Linked DNA regions of Homo sapiens: region 2 is linked to region 1. The links are contacts of gene promoters, found by promoter capture Hi-C in human tissues and cell types (Jung and others, 2019). All regions are on one chromosome and are shown on one strand. The core of a region is centred on a gene start or on the middle of the fragment in contact, and the rest is flanking DNA. Distances in the headings are between cores, read along the strand shown.

What was found. The method cuts DNA at HindIII sites, captures the fragments that hold promoters and counts their contacts. A contact is called where the count stands out against the background at its distance.
Region 2: a fragment that was not itself captured here is called in contact with the fragment with the promoter of DHRS4 in region 1 in 7 of the 25 tissues and cell types used here (H1 embryonic stem cells, IMR-90 fibroblasts, adrenal gland and 4 more).

Annotation. Positions count from the first base shown.
Region 1 is chr14:23,951,419-23,955,754 of GRCh38, forward strand. DHRS4 (dehydrogenase/reductase 4) reads left to right here and starts at 2,352. Exons shown (of 8, transcript NM_021004.4): 1 at 2,352-2,498; 2 at 3,617-3,794. The coding sequence starts at 2,371. It overlaps DHRS4-AS1 (DHRS4 antisense RNA 1), which reads right to left and starts at 3,694. Exons shown (of 2, transcript NR_023922.2): 1 at 3,330-3,694. RefSeq lists enhancers at 1,874-2,073, 2,684-2,813, 2,864-2,993. The HindIII fragment of the contact is 7,990 bases long and covers 1-4,336 here.
Region 2 is chr14:24,006,737-24,010,874 of GRCh38, forward strand. It overlaps the pseudogene DHRS4L1. Among named protein-coding and RNA genes, the nearest start is that of DHRS4L2, 20 kb to the left of the region's middle. The HindIII fragment of the contact is 5,422 bases long and covers 89-4,138 here.

The DNA.
Region 1 (4,336 bases), core at 1,102-3,601:
CATGCCACCAGGCCCGGCTGGTTTTTGTATTTTTAGTAGAGATGAGGTTTCACCATGTTGGCCAGGCTGATCTCGAACTTCTGACCACGCCCAGCTAATTTTCGTATTGTTAGTAAAGAGGATTACAGGTGTGAGCCACCATGCCCAGCCCAAGATTTCCTGTTCTTATCTCCAATAAGCGAGCTTGATGAGGAGTAGTGCTAGAGAGTCCCATACTTCTTGACTTCCTTCCATCCTTTTCTGCTCACAGGCCCCCTCCCTAATGTCCCCTGTGCTCTCCACAAAAGAAATAGTGCTAGAGGCCAAATAGCAACCCTGCCCACACAAGGAAGGGCCATGTAATGTTCACCAAGCACCCAAGCCACAATTCTCTCTTCCCAGAATCCTTTGCTCTTTGAAGTGTAGTCTTCCTCACCTTCCTGCCAACCTCAGCCCCTGAGTCCACCTGTCTACCTCTGAAGAGAAGGGAAAGAGAGATCAAACGCCCCCTGCAGGCCTGTCCCTTTGAACCAAGCCCTGAGAACCCCCGCAGCCGTCCTCCTGTGTACCCTCCCCCAGCCGCACACACAGATGGAGAGCCCTGGGAAGGGTTCCCACAGTGCGTTAGCTCCAAACAGTGCAAGAGGACAAGCAGTGTGGCGCTTCCAGCCTCTGTCAATAATTCATGAGGCTCAGACTGAGGAGCACCAGTCAGAGTCAGCCTTCCCTGGACATGGGGAAAATTATACTGAAGCTCTCCTGTCTCATCGGGATCTGCTGAGTAGCAAAGCAGAGTATTGCAGCTGTAACTTCTTGGCTGAGGAAAACACTAGAATTCCAGTGCAGGCCGTTCTATTACTTGCTCACCATACACCCCCTTTTGAATGTTGAAACCCTTTTTCAGCTGCTCAGCTTACCTGCACATATACTAAATGAATCTTGAGCAAACATGAATTCTATTCAAAAGTCATGCCTAGAACTGGATTTCACAAACCAGGATTCTTTCCCCTTTAATTGTAGGGACTGGCATAAGGCTGCCAAACTGGTGATTTCACCAATAACACATCTCTAAACCTACCCATCTGCTTTCATCATCTTTTCTAAAAGAAAACACTAACACACACACACACACACAAAAAGAAGCAAACGTATACTCCACAATAAAGGACTGTTAAATAAGCTTAGCTTTATGAAACTCACTGTAATTGTTTCCTTTTCTCATTTTGCCTTGAACTAGTGAAAACGCTGCCATGAACCAGCACTGCTTCTCAGTCTGGCTTTGGAGGCCAGTGGGTTAAACCAATTCAGATGCTTGCATTTGGGTCTGTTGGGGCCTTTCTACACTGTACCATAAGCCATCCAGATTTCTTCATTCTCCCGGAAACCCAGGAGGGAGATCATTTCAGCCCACTTGGCAGAAGTGCAGACTGAAGTCTTGGACACAGAATTTATAGCTGGCAAGGACTTTATTCATCATCCATACCCTCAGTAATTTACAGATGAAGAGTCTGGCCCAGGGCACCAATAATAATCACTACATGGTGGCAGTAACTACTATGTGCTTAGTAGCTTACAGTTCATAAAGAGATTTTGCATTCAACAAATATTTATTGAACTAAGATGGCGGCTAAGACCTGGGGACAGAGTGGTTAGGGAGAACTTGAGTGCCCCGAGTTCTTTGCATTTCCACCACTGCTTGAGGGACTGTCCAGCCTCCTCGCTACCACTTAGCCCCTGTAAAGGAGGAAGTCCCTTTGTCAACGGACATGAGAATGCTGTTTGGCCAATGACCATAGTCTGCCCTCCAGGGCCCGTGAAGATGGAAGAGACCTTGGGCAGAGTGAAGGGCAGTGCCAGGCCTGGCGCAGCTACTCCCTATCACGTCTCTCTCCCAGGCTCTTCCAGCCTCACCTGGTGGACTCCATGGCGACCACAGGCCTCACCTCCATGGGCAGTCTCAAAACATTTGCCCTCCTGTGGGCTGTCACACACATAGACCCAGACTTTCTTGGAGAAGGAATTCTGAAGAAGCAAAAGCAACCAACTCAAAACCCCCACTTCCCAGAGAAGAAAAGGTGGGCAAGCAGATGCAGAAAGGCAGCAGCCAAAGCCTGCGGGTTCCTGCAAGGGCCAGGGGAGGGGCGAGCCCTACAGGCAACTTGAACGGAGAGCTCACCCGCCAGCCCGGAAAGGCAAGCCCCAGTCAGGCGGAAGGTAGATGGTGGAGGGGCGCCGCGGCGGATGGAGGTGCCCAGGGCCACAGACCGCTCACAGCGGTACCGGGGCGGGGAGCAGGGCGGGCAGGGAATCGGCCCGCCCTTCGTCCTGCCCCTCGCCCTACTCTGTCACCGCCCCTGGGAAGAGTGGAACCCATACTTGCTGGTCTGATCCATGCACAAGGCGGGGCTGCTAGGCCTCTGTGCCCGGGCTTGGAATTCGGTGCGGATGGCCAGCTCCGGGATGACCCGCCGGGACCCGCTCGCAAATAAGGTGGCCCTGGTAACGGCCTCCACCGACGGGTGAGTGCTCCGGCCGGAGTTTCTGAGGCCCTGGCTGCCTGGAAACAGGCACTGGCCTCTCATCCTCGGCCTCCGGTGCCCCTGTCCTCAGACCTTACACGCTGCCAAAGTCTGGCCCTGGAAAAAAGGTAGCCACGTGGTCCGCCTGAAGCCACTCCGAATCCCCTAGCCCTGGACCCTCCCTTGCCAGCCCTCCTGTCCCTGCTACCTCTGGCACAACTGTGCCACCTCTGTGCAGCCCTATCGATCTAGTCTCCCCAGTGTTCTGGGCTGCCCCAGTCAACCAGCGCCACCTAGCGTCTGGGAAGACCAGAAACTGGAAATCCAAGGAAATCTGGATTTCAAAATACTATCCCACGGCCTCCAGCACTTTGAAAATGTACCAGACATTCTATTTGGGCACCGGAAAGTCCCCCGGAACCCCTCCCCCTTACCTAGATGGGACACCAGAGCCATATGTCGAGATTTTTGTTTAGGTCGGTACATCTGGGCCGACCTTGCCCAGCCTGTTTCTCACCCACCATTCTTGTCTATCCTGGTCCTCATTTCTACAGGACTTTGCTAGATGCCAGCTCTTCACAAAACTAAAATACAAATGTAGGTAAAATGCTAATAGCTGACAAATGCAAAATGTGTAACTCTTCCTCCCAAGGCAATATTTACATTTTTGACCGGAGACCATCTTTTCACATGCACCCCAAAAAATAACTAAGGATAGAATTTTGAGAATGATGTAGACGAGTAAGAAAGAAACCTGGGGGCAGGGCTGTTCTGAGTGAGACCCTCAAATCACGGAAGTGGCTGCTGCTGCAAACCCAGCTCATTTCTCACCTCTCAGTCCCAAGAGGGGATGAAGCCTGTCACCCATGGTGGGAACTGTAGAAAGTGATGTCAGTTCTTGGGAACTGAGGCTGTGGTCCAGGTCATAATAAAAACAAGTAAAGGAATGCCAAAAATGGCCATGCCATTAAGCCTGTTTTACACATAGTAGGCACACGTAGGGGTTATATAGAGAAAGAGCCAGAATTCAAACCCGGGCAGTCTTAACTTCAGAGCTCATACTGTCGACCTCTTCCCCTGCACAGGCCTTAGCAGTCTTTGTCTCTTTCTGCTCACAGGATCGGCTTCGCCATCGCCCGGCGTTTGGCCCAGGACGGGGCCCATGTGGTCGTCAGCAGCCGGAAGCAGCAGAATGTGGACCAGGCGGTGGCCACGCTGCAGGGGGAGGGGCTGAGCGTGACGGGCACCGTGTGCCATGTGGGGAAGGCGGAGGACCGGGAGCGGCTGGTGGCCACGGTGAGCTGCAGGGAAATGGGCACAGAGCCAGGAGGTGGAAAACGGAGCCAGCCTGAGCCTCCTTCCCTGCTTTCCTAGACAGCAGCACATTTTTACTGTGTGCCTTTCTATTATGTCCATATACTAACGTCAGAGAATCATCCCATCTCAGTCAGAGAATTTTAAAACATTCTAATGCTTCAACCCTGCATCATCCCTTGAGTACCCCAAAGAAACAGCTGGTACTGGTTCTGCAGTAATTTTCAATCTAATTGAACAGATGTGAAGGGTAAATACAATCACAAAATACATGTTCCCACCCATGAGTTAATAAACATTCCCCTCTTCTTCAGCTTATAGAGTCAAGTCCCTGGGAACCTCAGGAAGCAGCCCACCATGTTTCAGCCACTTACTATGTGCCATTTCCTGTGTTCAGAGCCTTACACAGGTTATCTCTAGACCTGACAACAACCCAAGCAAGGCAAGGACTATTCTCTCAGTCTGCAGACCCTGGCTCAGATAGCTGGAGCAACTTCCCAAGGTCCCACAGCCAGTAAGGAAAG
Region 2 (4,138 bases), core at 1,550-4,049, 56 kb after region 1:
GTACAAGCTGGATGGGTCCTGAGCCGGTGGGGAATAGAGAAAGGCCCTGCAAGGTACCCAGGCCCACAAACAAAAGAAATGGGTTCTGCCCACGGGCCCGAGGATTCAGTAGAAGGAAAGTGGGGACGCTGTCCCCCGCCCCAAAGGCACTGACACTGGGCGACACACGCTGAGCCTCTCACACCGACGGGCCTCTCACGCCGGAGCCGGCAAGAAAGGTCGGCGCCAGCCCGCGGGCTCTCAGGAGGCTCGGCAGCGCGACGCGCATGCTCAGTCGGGCAGCTCTCCGGGCCGGCGTGGGAGCCCGCGCTCCAAAGCCCGGTGGGGGGAGGGGCGCTCACGCAACCGCCACTGTCTGGAGCGGGCTCGCCTCTGCGGCGGCACTCACCGCCCGGGCTTTACTGAAGCGGAGTCTAGCATGTGCGGCTGCTCCACAGCGGTGTGGGTGGCGGCGGCTCCTCTGCAGCAGCCTCGGCAGTAGGGGTCACGGTGGCCAAGCCCACCGTGGAGCTCATCTGAGAGTTGTAAGGTACGGGACTGCCTCGGTCTTTGGGACGCCCCGTCTGGTAGCATCCCAGATCCAGCACGTTCCTTCCGGCCCTGCACCCCGGCCCGGTGCCTCACACCCCGCTACCCCATGCATCCAGACTCTAAGGCAGCCCCTGCATCTCAGTCCTGACATCGCTGTCCCTGGAGCATCCTCCGCTGGAGCTGGAGCTTGACAGGTAGGGTGGAGAGGGCCGTGGGGGGGGTGCGGAAACTGCATCAATTAACGGGGCCGTGGGGGAGGGAAGTCCTCCATTGCTAAGGCTTCAGTAGGCGTTCTATGATCACAGTGTAAACAAAGCTGCAGGGAAGCTCTAACTGGGCGGAACCCACCGCAGCTCAGCAAGGCCTACTGCCTCTCCAGATTCCACCTCAGGGGCCAGGGCATATCTGAGCAAAAGGCAGCAGACAGCTTCTGCAGACTTCAGTGTCCTTGCCTGACATCTCTAAAGACAGCAGTGGTTCTCCCAGCACGGAGTTCGTGCTCCGATAACGGACAGACTGCCTCCCCAAGTGGGTCCCTGACCCCCATGTAGCTTGACTGAAAAACACCGCCCAGTAGGGGCAGAGAGACACCTCATACAGGTGGGTGCCCCTGTGGAACAAAGCTTCCAGAAGAAGGATCAGGCAGCAATATTTGCTGTTCTGCAGCCTCCTCTACTGATACCCAAGAAAATAAGGTCTGGAATGGACTTCCAGCAAACCCCCAAAGACCTGCAGCTGAGGGGCCTGTTAGAAGGAAAACTAACAAACAGAAAGGAATAGCATCAACATCAGCAAAGGACAGCATCAACATCAGAACAGGAAAGGACATCCACACTAAAACCCCATCCATAGGTCACCAACATCAAAGACCAAAGGTAGATAAAACCACAAAGATGGAGAGAAACCAGAGCAAAAAGGCTGAAACTTCCAGAAATCAGAACGTCTCTTCTCTTCCAAAGGAATACAAGTCCTCACCAGCAAGGGAACAAAACTGGATGGAGAATAAGTTTGATGACTTGACAGACGTAAGCTTCAGAAGGTCAGTAATAACAAACTACACCCAGCTAAAGGAGCATGTTCTAACCCATTGCAAGGAAGCTAAAAACCTTGACAAAATGTTAAACGAATGGCTAACTAGAATGAAGAATCTAGAGAAGAGCTTAAATGACCTGATGGAGCTGATAACCACAGTACAAGAACTTCATGAAGGATACACAAGCTTCAATAGCTGATTCAATCAAGTGGAAGAAAGGATATCAGTGATTGAATATAAAATTAATGAAATAAAGTGAGAACACAAGATTAGAGACAAGAAAAGAAAAAAGAAACATTCAAATTCAGGAAATACAGAGAACATCACAAAGACACTCCTTGAGAAGAGCAACCCCAAGACACATAATTGTCAGATTCAGCAAGGTTAAGGGCAGCCAGAGAGAAAGGTTGGGTTACCAACAAAGGGAAGCCCATCAGACTAACAGCAGATCTCTCAGCAGAAACCATACAAACCAGAAGAGAGTCGGGACCAATATTCAACATTCTGAAAGAAAAGATTTTTGGAACTAGAATTTCATATCCAGCCAAACTAAGCTTCGTAAGTGAAGGAGAAATAAAATCCTTTACAGACAAGCAGATGCTGAGAGAGTTTGTCACCACCAGGCCTGCCTTACAATAAGAGCTCCTGAAGGAAGCACTAAACATGGAAAGGAACAACCAGTACCAGCCACTGCAAAAACATACGAAATTGTAAAGACCATTGATGCTATGAAGAAACTGCATCAATTAATGGGCAAAATAACCAGCTAACGTCATGACAGGATCAAATTCACATATAACAATACTAACCTTCAATGTAAATGGGATAAATGCCCCAATTAAAAGACACTGACTGGCAAATTGGATAAAGAATCAAGACCCATATGGTGTGCTGTATTCAGGAGACCCAATCTCACGTGCAAAGACACACATAGGCTCAAAATGAAGGTGTGTCTGGAATTGGTGGGTTCTTGGTCTCACTGACTTCAAGAATGAAGCCACGGACCCTCGCAGTGAGTGTTACAGTCCTTAAAGGCAGCGTGTCCGGAGTTTGTTCCTTCTGATGTTCAGACACGTTCAGAGTTTTTTCCTTCTGGTGGGTTCGTGGTCTCGCTGGCTTCAGGAGTGAAGCTGCGGACCTTCACAGTGAGTGTTACAGCTCTTAAGGCGGCATGTCTGGAGTTGTTCGTTCCTCCCATCCGGAGTTGTTCATTCCTCCCACTGGGTTCGTGGCCTCACTGGCCTCAGGAGTGAAGCTGCAGACCTTCACGATGAGTGTTACAGCTCATAAAGGCCGTGTGGACCCAAAGAGTGAGGGGCAGCAAGATTTATTGCAAAGAGCGAAAGAACAAAGCTTCCACAGTGTGGAAGGGGACCCAAGCAGGTTGCTACTGTTTGAAGGGGTGGCTTGCCCCTCCACACCTGTGGGTATTTCTAGTCAGGTGGGACGAGAGACTGAGAAAGAGAAATAAGACACAGAGACAAAGTATAGAGAAACAACAGTGAGCCCAGGGGACCGGCGCTCAGCATACCAAGGACTTGCACCGGCACCGGTCTCTGAGTTCCCTCAGTTTTTATTGATTATTATCGTCATTATTTCAGTAAAAAGGAATGTAGTAGGAGGGCAGGGTGATAATAAGGAGAAGGTCAGCAACAAACGTGAGCAATAGAATCTAATAATTCAGTTCAAGGGAAGGTACTATGACTGGACATGCACGTAAGCCAGATTTATGTTTCTCTCCACCCAAACATCTCGGTGGAGTAAAGAATAACGAGGCAGCATTGCTGCAAACATGTCTCGCCTCCCACCATAGGGCGGTTTTTCTCTCATCTCAGAACTGAACAAATGTACAATCGGGATTTATACCGAGACTTTTAGTTCCCAGGAGCAGGCAGGAGACAGTGGCCTTCCTCTATCTCAACTGCAAGAGGCCTTCCTTTTTTACTAACCCACCGCAGCACAGACCCTTTATGGGTGTCGGGCTGGGGGACAGTCAGGTCTTTCTCATCCCAGGAGGCCATATTTCAGACTATCACATGGGGAGAAACCTTGGACAATACCCTGCTTTCAAGGGCAGAGGTCCCTGCGGCTTTCTGCAGTGCACTGTGCCCCTGGTTTATTGAGACTAGAGAATGGCGATGACTTTTACCAAGTATACTGCTTGTAAACATTTTGTTAACAAGGCACGTCCTACACAGTCCTAGATCCCTTAAACCTTGATTTCATACAACACATGTTCTTGTGAGCTCCAGGTTGGGTCAAAGTGGTTGGGTCAAAGTGGCTGGGGCAAAGCTAAAAATTAACAACATCTCAGAAAAGCAATTATTTAAAGTACAGGTCTTTTTCAAAATGTAGTCTCTTATGTCTTCCCTTTCTACATAGACACGGTAACAGTCTGATCTCTCTTTCTTTTCCCTACATATCCCCCTTTTCTTTTTGACAAAACTGTCATTGTCACCATGGCCTGTTTTTGCTGGTCACTGTCTTTCTGGAACTGCTGGATACACCTGTAGACTAACAATAGAGAGGGCAGACATACAAGGATTAATACAAAATTTGCAATAGTGGAATTTC